Regions from separate parts of the Homo sapiens genome. Here region 2 is linked to region 1. Evidence: promoter capture Hi-C in 16 types of primary human blood cells and fetal thymus (Javierre and others, 2016). All regions are on one chromosome and are shown on one strand. Each heading gives the region's core, a stretch centred on a gene start or on the middle of the fragment in contact. The rest is flanking DNA. Distances are from core to core; before and after follow the strand shown.

Evidence for each region. Contacts are between HindIII fragments. The CHiCAGO score rates a contact against its expected background, and 5 or more counts as called.
Region 2: the fragment with the promoter of ACVR2A here is called in contact with the fragment with the promoter of NMI in region 1 in 9 of 17 cell types (total B cells, total CD8 T cells, non-activated CD4 T cells and 6 more); the score reaches 14.5 in total B cells.

Annotation. Positions count from the first base shown.
Region 1 is chr2:151,286,640-151,291,351 of GRCh38, reverse strand. NMI (N-myc and STAT interactor) reads left to right here and starts at 1,684. Exons shown (of 8, transcript NM_004688.3): 1 at 1,684-1,759. RefSeq lists enhancers at 1,096-1,515, 1,576-1,655, 2,046-2,095, 2,116-2,165, 2,966-3,135 and a silencer at 1,716-1,915. The HindIII fragment of the contact is 4,870 bases long and covers 1-3,553 here.
Region 2 is chr2:147,843,106-147,847,961 of GRCh38, reverse strand. ACVR2A (activin A receptor type 2A) reads right to left here and starts at 2,933. Exons shown (of 11, transcript NM_001616.5): 1 at 2,755-2,933. The coding sequence starts at 2,809. RefSeq lists silencers at 2,492-2,571, 3,327-3,436, 3,517-3,706 and an enhancer at 3,833-4,583. The HindIII fragment of the contact is 3,923 bases long and covers 1,709-4,856 here.

The sequences.
Region 1 (4,712 bases), core at 435-2,934:
AATAATACCTATATCTAATATTGTTGTTGGCAAAACAAAAAGGTTTATAAAATGTCCAGGAGTTCTTAGTAGATGTTAGCAATTACAATTATTAATAGTATGTCCAGGAGCCAACTCTTCATCTTCAGATCTCTAACACTTTGCAGAATACCAGATTTGAAGCTGAGTTAAATTCAGACTGTTAGTACATGTCTCAGCTTTAGAATGTAGGTGTCCAAAAAGACTTCCCCTCCACCTGTATCATTTGCCTTTTAAACAGAATCTGAGTCAATATATTAAGTTAGTCCTGTTCTGGCCATGGTCCTGTCCTTTAGTATCTTCTTGTAAAAAATAAAAATAAGAAGAAATGAGGTTCAACTAAATAACCTCGAGAGTTCATATTCCCTCTAAAATTTCAAGGTAAAACTAAAGTAATTCTTTCTCAAGTTGCAGCAGAAGGAGTTTTTGTATTTTCTAACTGGTCTGATAAGCACAAAGAAGTCGTTTTTTTTACTTAGAAATGCCATTTTACAGGAGGCTGAGGTGGTGGGATCACTTGGGCCAGAGCTCAAGATCAGCCTGGGAAACAGTTAGATACCTGCCCCCAGCACCCAAATTAAAAGTACAAAAAATCTGGGTGCGGTCGTGAATTCCTGTAATCCCAGCTACTTGGGAGTGGAGGTGGAAGGACTGCTTGAGCTCAGGAGTTGGAGACTGGGCAACAGAGCAAGACTCATCTCAAAAAAAAAAAAAAAAAAGAGAAATGTCACCACTTTAAACTGGTTCCCATCAACCTTTTTGATACAAAGAAATTTTACTTTTGTTAAACTATTTTAGACCACTGTATCAGTTATTATATGTGACTAGGTAGCATGATAACCTATAATTTATGCCTTGAAATAATTTTGACTCATTTTCTTCCCACATCTGTATTTATGAGCCGGGGCAGCTGTGGGGTGGTTCTTTGTGTGGGATTAAGAGACACTGCAGTTCTTGAAATAAACCAGATGTTTGAATTTTCAAAGGAAAAGTTCACACCTAGTGAAGTATTTATTTACAAGCTCCACAACAAAACAAGAGATTATAAGAAAACTTTCAAGGGACATGGGTCACAGAAACCAACAGGAACACCACAGCTTTCCCAACTTCATGGCCCCGGGGGATGTTACAAAAGACACAGAAACGCCGATCTTGTGCTGACTGTAAACATTTGTCAACTAGTGTTACAATGACTAAGAAATTACAAAAGAGTTACAATCTGATGAAGAGCGATTCCTGCTTTGACTTTATTTGGTTTCTATCCACTTTTCCAACATACCTTATAAAATACATGCAAAAAACTGGTTTTAGAAAGCGTTCCCTAAAATTAGTGTGTACGGAAACTTCAGGTATACTTCTGCTTTCCTCCGCAAAACCACCCCTTTTTAAAAATCGAAAGTGAAATTAGTTTTTTTTTCTGTTAGTGACTAATCATTGGAGACAACCATGTTTAGTATTTGAGCATTGGTTAAATGCTAAAGAAAAATCGCCGTTAAAGCAGTTTTCTTTTTCACTGTCTTTTTCTTTTCGCGGGGAACCCAGCTGTTCCTGCGAGGGCCACCTCCTCAGGAAGACCCCGCAGCTCTCCCGCGGCGCTTCTGCAGGAGGCAGCGACAGTTTCGAGAACCCGGGCCTTCCCCTCCCAGTGCCTCCCGGGGTTCCGGCGTTTCAGGCGCTGCTGTTTTCCGGGAAGGGCAGGCGCGCTGGGCCTTGGGGAGCTGCGCTCGGCGGGCGGACGCGGGTGAGTGGGGAGTCCCTTCCCCGGCTGCCACTCCCGCCGCTGGCAGTCCCGGGCTGGAGAGCCGGGGGTGGAAAGGGAGGTGGGAGCCCTCAGCGCCGACGGAAGTGGGACAGCGCCGGAGTTGAGACCCTGCTCCCCGGGAGCTGCCCGCAGCCGAGTCGCGGAGGCCACGCCGCCTTCGAGGGGGCGCACCTGCTCCTGGGCCCGCTGTGCAGTCTCTGGGCCGTCAGGGCTTCGAGCCTTGTCACTTGTTTGCTTTGCTTCATTGAGGAAATTGAAACATAAAGTTATTTGTGTTTCCTCGCTGTTTTCTCTCTTTTTTTTTTTTTTTTTTTTTTTTGAGACGGAGTCTCGCTCTGTCGCTCAGGCTGGAGTGCAGTGGCGCGATCTCGGCTCACTGCAAGCTCCGCCTCCCGGGTTCACGCCATTCTCCAGCCTCAGCCTCCCGAGTAGAGTAGCTGGGACTACAGGCGCCCGCCACCACGCCTGGCTAATTTTTTTTTTTGTATTTTTAGTAGAGACGGGGTTTCACCGTGTTAACCAGGATGGATACGATCTCCTGACCTCGTGATCCGCACGCCTCGGCCTCCCAAAGTGCTGGGATTACAGGCGTGAGCCACCGCGCCCGGCCCTCGCTGTTTTCTCCGAGTGTCTCTGGAGATAGTCCTTAGGAAAACGGATTTCTTAAGAAAACGATTCTTGGTAGGGGCAGTGTTGTGCAGTCATGGCTGGCGTGTCAGAATAGGCAAGGTTTTTCTTGAAGGAGACATCCGAAGGAGAATACTGTGTTTCCAGTCTGTACAACAGGCAGACGTTCTATTGCCTTTCTTTTTGCTGCCACGCATGCATATAGGAAGATTCGATTCTACACGGCCTGGCACCGCAGTTATATGATTGTATTACGGAAATACGGTGATGTTGATTTGTATCAGTTTTTTTAATTCGCTGCCATAACAAATTACATGGCTTTAGTGGCTTAAACACATAGGAACGCGCGCGCGCGCGCACACACACACACACACACACACTCACATACACAATTTACTATCTTAGGATTCTGTAGCAGTCCTACTGAGGTCTCACTGGGTTAAAATCAAAGTGTTGGCAGGGTTGCCTTCCTTTCTGGAAGCTCTTGGGGTGAATCCTCTTTCCATCTTCCGGAGGCCACCTACCTTATTTGGCTCAGCAGCCCTTCCTCCATCTTCAGGGCCAGCAACATTGCGCCTCTGAAAGTTCTTCCGGGGTCACATTTCACTCTTGACTCTTCTTCTGTCTTCCGCTTTCACTTTTAAGTAGCCTCATGATTACACTGGGCTCCCACAGATAATCCAGGATGCTCTCCATATTTAAAAGCAAGCTGATTAGCAACCTTAATTCAATCTGCAGCCTTAATTCTCCTTTGCAATATAAACTAACATAATCACAGATTCTTGGGATTAAGATGTGGACATCTTTGAGGGAGCCATTGTTTTGCCTACTACATGATTGCATAAAAGGAATGACCATACATCCCACTCATGCATAGAGCAAAAGTATCCAGATGCAAAAGATGCCAAAAGGGTTCTGGTGGTGTTAGATAGTAGACCATTTATGCTGAGAGCCTTTATTACAGGCTCTTGGAATATTGGCATTGTCACAATAATAAAAATAAAAAGCAATTAAATAACATTGCAGTTTCTGTCTTCTGAAATGTAATAAGAGGACTTCATATACATGTGATGTCCTGAGTACAACAAATACTTAAGTCAAGATACCACATAATTCTCTAAATGGAGTGTTTTCAGTGTGTAAGCTTATACTGAGAAAGTGCTCTGAATGTCTGCAGGGAGGAGTAGACATGGTCCCAGCCCTCAACATGTTTACTGATGTGTCACGGAAAATGACATAGGTACACACGTAATTAAAGCGCCGCAAAGGAGATAAAGGAGGGGGAGTAACATCCTTTGGGGGAATCAGAAAAGGCTTCGGGAGCTTGGGGAAAATTTGGAATGGACCTTGAAGAACAGTAAGATTTCATTAGATGGAGATTAAGTTTGGGAGAGGAGGAAGGATGTGACAGTTTGAGGGACAGAGGAAAGAAAAGGAACTATCCAAGTGTTCAGTGTGGTTAGGGAACTGGGTTGAGGAATTGACTAAATAGGACGGGAAAGTGAGTTGGAGTTAGAATGTATCAGACCATGGCTGACCATTAAGAAGATTTTGCAGTTGTTGATACAATAGCGATATATATGTATATATGTATGCGTGTGTGTGTGTGTGTGTGTATGTGTGTGAGAGAGAGAGAGAGAGATGTGGTTTAAATATATATATACTTATATATATATATCGTCTCAAGGCATCTCAAACTTACAGAAAAGTTGCAAGTACAGTAAAACAACTTTTCCTTTTCCTAAATTATTTAAGAATAAATTTCCAATCTGGTGACCTATCATCTTTCATTATATACTTGAGTATATATTTCCTACAAAAAAGATGTGCTCCGACATAACCACAATACAGTCATCAAAATCAGGAATGTGGAGTGCTACGTTACTACAATTTAATAATCAGATCCAATGTGAATTTCACCAGTTGTCCTGATAGTGTCTTGGATAGTGTAGGGGTCAAGGGAAAACTTCCTCTTTGCTCTCTGAAGGGCAAAGGCAGATTAAAAAGGAGAAATGGCATACAAATTTATTAATGTGCACAGGGGAAAAAAATCACATAGTGATGATACTGCACAATGGGGTACAGATGGTTATATTCCCTACTTTTTAGGGGAAAGGGAGATGTGGAAGTGTGGATGATTATAGGGGGTTAGTAAATGATTTTTAAAGGAATTCAAGGGACTCGAAGAACATACAATGGCCTTGGACAAAGCCTGTTGGGCTTGCAGAACAGACAGTGGTTGTAACCCAGGTTTGTTGACAGACTTCAGTCTTCTTTCTGTGATATGAATTCAGAATTAAAAACT
Region 2 (4,856 bases), core at 1,684-4,183, 3.4 Mb after region 1:
CTTACTTCTATGCAACTCAAATACCACAATAGCTGCATAACTCTAGATAGGATAAATCTAAGTACTAAAGCAAGTATTAAAGTCATTCTCATACTTCAACAAACTGTGGGGAAAGACACAAATAAACCACAATGCTATAAAAAGAAAACTAAGATTTATGTTTTGAAACAGAATCTGAGAAAGTATGAGAGGAATGAAAAAATTCAAAATCAAAGGTAATCTGAAGGCACTCCAGGATAGGGGCAAAATTTAAAATGTTTCCCCTGGAATGAGAGAGAGGAGGAAATTATACACTTGGCCATATCCTACAGGAATAGTCTGCATAATCAGTCTCCAGAATACATACCATGGGATGGAAACTGAAAAATCAGAGTCCACGAAATAGTAAACATCCCTCCTAAACACCTGGAACAAAACTGTTCCTTACTATTGTTTCCCATTTTGATTTTTAAAAAAAATCAAATATCTAGAAATGAAAAACTGACAACCTGAGAATTTTTAAAATTCTCATAAAAATAGTCACCTCATGCTTCCAACATGTCAGATCACACATTTTGTAGAAAAATCAATTAGTTGGAGAAACATAATAATCCTTTTTTAGAGTGCATCTGATCCATAACAAAAGGCTTTTAAAAATCAGACATTTTAAGTACTCAAATTGTTCATGTATAAATATGGATTAAGGTCTTTATGATTATTTCAATTATCTTCAACAGAATCACATATTTTAGTTCAACTGGGAATGTTCATCTTAAAAAGCCTATGCAACAACATAATATTAGTTTAATATAAGTGGAATATCTATATGCCCTACAGCAACAAAATCACTTTATTTCAAAATTATAGCTATTAACCTCCTGGCCCACTGAAAATAATCCTGGCCCAATGAAAATAATCCCACAAGAAACTAATGCTCAATTATTTTTACTACCAAACCAAGCAGAAGAAGCTGTAAGATCTGTAGCGACAGCCTGCTTTTCAAGAAGTAATACCTTGAGACTGCTCAAGAATAACCTCCTTCATCAATTAGTGTGACTCAGGTGGGTTTGAGAGGGAATAATGTCCACAATTCCTTGGTCAGTGGCCATGATGCCCCTCCTCCTCAAGGGCAAGAGATCAGAACAAGGGATTTGAACAAGAGGAGTTCACCAGCCACAACATATAGAAGCAGAGGAAAAAAGAGTACTACTGGAAAGATAAAAACTACATGGTTAAGTCATGTCACAAAAGCAAGAGGTTTAATGTTATCAAGGCCTTCATTCATTTCAGACACACCATTGTTTAGCTTCCTTCCCAAACCGTGCACAAAAAGAACTGTCAGCCTGCCTTAAGCATGTTCCTTCTTCCATTTAAACAGACATGATTCTTTTGGTTAATCTCTGGCAATGATCGCCATTTCACAACACATTCAGCCCACCCGGAACTGATCAATACCACTACAGACATAAGACTAGACTTTATCCATTTATTAACCACAAGGAAATGTACCATTCAGCAAAATTCTATACATTACAAAAGATTATATTTAAAGGGGGGTGGGGAAGACGGACACAAACACACAAACACACACACACACACCCCACAGAGGTACACAAAGAAGACTACCACCCTTTAATTTTCCTGTGGCAAACGAGATAAAGACATGGCCATGAAACCTGTCAATTCGCCCCCGTTTCCAAGAGTCCCCCGTAATTCTATGCCACAAGCTTGTAACTGAATATTAAATTTTACAATAAATAGATCCAATGAGACTTATTTAAAATGTTTCATCTATTGAACTAACTCTCCTGTTATGTACATCTGCACACCTTTCAGCTAGATGCTGTATTTATTTATAGAATTTCAAATACAAAAGACTAGATAGTTTTTCCAACCACTGGTTGCAACCATAGAACGTCCTCACAAAATCAAAATTTCCAATATAAAATGGCCCGTTTATTCCCCCAACCTTGAGCTAAAACCTATTTTATGAGTGTACTATATTTAACAAAAACAATTTCACATGGGTTGTTCTAAACCGAAAACAATGCTTCAATACAAAGCGTTTAAAATAAGTATTCCGTAGGTAAGCAAAATCTATGCCCCAAAAGAGCACACAAATGGTGGTTGAACGCCAGCACATTACCAATACCAAGCGGCATACCTCTTCTGCACTGGGTTATAGTTAATACTCCAACAACAACTACAACTATTTTTAACACTGCTGGACGCTGAAGTTGAAGAAAACGTGAGGGGAGACCCAGATTAAATTGCTGATAGGATGTATTGTTTCCCACAGCCAAAATTAAGCAGCAACTGGCTTGATCTATGTCGTGATATTCACCGGTGAAGCACTAATTAAACGATGACAAAAAGCAACCCTTGTTTTGGAGGAGCCCACACTAAATACTCCTTTCAGATCTCAACCTTTGCATAAATTGTCACTTGTGGTATTTGCGGCTTAATTGCAACCCAACCAGCGCTGTCATCCAGTGTTATGGCCACAAAACATGACTTTCTCACTTCCACAACAACACAGCACTCACTCTTATCAGCTCGCCGACCCAACTCAAAAAGAGAAAAATGCATGGAGGTTTCCAGATCACAATCAGACCTGGGGGCGGGGGGGGGGGGCGGTGGCAGCCGAGGGGCGCAGGGAGTGGGCAACCTCCCCAGGCTCCACTGGACTCTCCGACTCAACACCAGCCGCGGCCCCCAGCAGCGGCCGCCGCGGCCGCAGGAGCAGCCCCACCGCGCCGCGCTCCCTGCACCTACCTGAAGAACAGGAGATAAGAAAGACGGCAAACGCCAACTTTGCAGCAGCTCCCATTTTCCCGAGGCGCCGGGGAATCCGGAGGAAGTTCTCGCTAGATATCCAGTTCCCTGGGTCTTCCTCGGAGACAAACCTCCTGGTGTAAAATCAACCGTCATAAAACATATTCGGAAGCCCAGACCAAAAAAAAAAAAAAAAAAAAAAAAAAACGCTCACTGGGTTAAAAAAAAAAAAGAAAAAAAAGAGCACAACGATAAAAAATAAAATGCACCACGGGGGAAAAACCGCCACACACACGCACAACACACAAAACCAAACAACGAAAAGCCAACAACAACAAAAGCGGGTTTAAATCACTGTCAAAATCACTGTCAGCTCCGCTCGCCTCTCCCGTCTCTCGGAACAAAACGCCAGGCTGAGGCGACGAAGAGGCGGCGGCGGCAGCGGCGTCCGCTGCCGCCCGGACAGTCTGGGAACTGACTGGGTCCGATGTCCGGACCGACCTTCAACCCAGACACCTAAAGTCCGAGGACCACTGGCGGCCGAGCTCGCGGCGGTGGCGGCGAGGCGGCTGCGGCGCGGGGAAGGGGCGGCGGGCGGCAGCGGCGGCGGCGGTGCAGGCGGCGGCCAAGTTCTGGTCCAGGCTCTGGCTCCAGCTCCGGGCTCCGGGCTCGGCCGCGTTTTCGGTCTCCTGGCCTCCGCCGGGCTCCGCCCCCCAAACTTCCGGTTCCGGCCCGAAGCTGGAAGCCAGGCGCAGCGGAGGAACGCTCGGCGGCAGCGGCGGCGGCGGCGGCGGCGGCAGCGGCGGCCGGGCGCAGCGCGCGTGCCGGGCCGGGAGCGCGAGGAGATTGTCGGGGAAGCGAGGCGGGAGCGGGGGAGGGGTGAGAGAGCGAGGGCGGGGCGGAGTGGAGGGCGAGGAGGCGGGGCGGACGGAGGCTCGATACCGCGAGGCCTCGGCGTCCGGCCTGCTTGGGCTAGAGATACCGCGACAAAGGGGCGCGGGCGCCTCAAAGTCCCTAAGCTGTGGCTGGGCTGTGGCCGGGCGAGTAGATGCGGGCTAGGCCGGGCACGACCCGTTTCCAAATCGCGTCCGACGGGCCTGTCTGGAGCGCCCACCCAAAGGGTCAGGAGAAGCCCAAGAGGAAGAGGACCCCGAGGTGGGGCGAGTGGCCAGGGACTTCTCCAAGGGGCGTCTGCGGCGCCCAGTCTTTCCTCTGGGGGGACGCCTCGTCCGCTCTGATACCGAGGAGTCGGTGGAAGGCGGACGTGGGAGCTGTTTCGCCGCGCCCGCCGAGCTGCCCAGGCGAGCTCGCGACGCGCGAGCTGGTGTGTGCGCCCCCAGACTTAGCACTGCGTCCCACCGCTGCAGCTTCTGCACACGCGTGCTGTCTTGGTGACTAGAAAAGAAAAAGAAAAAACTCACGGAGGAAGGGCTGTCCACCCGCTCAGGATATTCACGCCATTTATCACGATGCGCAACTTGAATCCATTCCCGCCGTTCCTTTTACACACAAAGCATTGTGTTGAAAACTGTTTTGCACGTAATAGGTGCGCAAATACTTGTTTACTGCGCTTTGAAGAAAAAAATGAGGATTTCGAACGACATATTTGATGATCAGACAAGTGATTACTTGTCAAAATTTTAGCTATTTAAGGGCCTGTTTTTACCCCTTAATCCATGTCGATTGCTTACAAGCTGGTGTGCTAGGCACGGAATGGGATCCAACAGGTAAAAATAGGATGGATCCCTACCTCAAGTAGCTTTTAGTATTTGCTGTATTCAGTTGGTTGCAGAATACAAACTAGAGACTATTGAAGGTAGTTGCTCTGTCATTTACCACACTTTAGTGAGCTTCGTGAAGGTAGAGATCTTGATTTTTTCCTTATTTTATTCCAGCACCCAGAAGTATCAACTAGCACATAAGTGCTTAATAAATAATTGTATAAATGACTAAGGGATGACTGCCTTTCTCTTAAATACAGTCTCTGTTAATGTACTCTACAAAGTTTTGGTTTTTAATAAAACAACTGTATAATATGGCTAATTCATGTTTCATTTGTGGTTTACTGATTCCCACCTTTTCCCACAAAGCCAAGTCTTCTC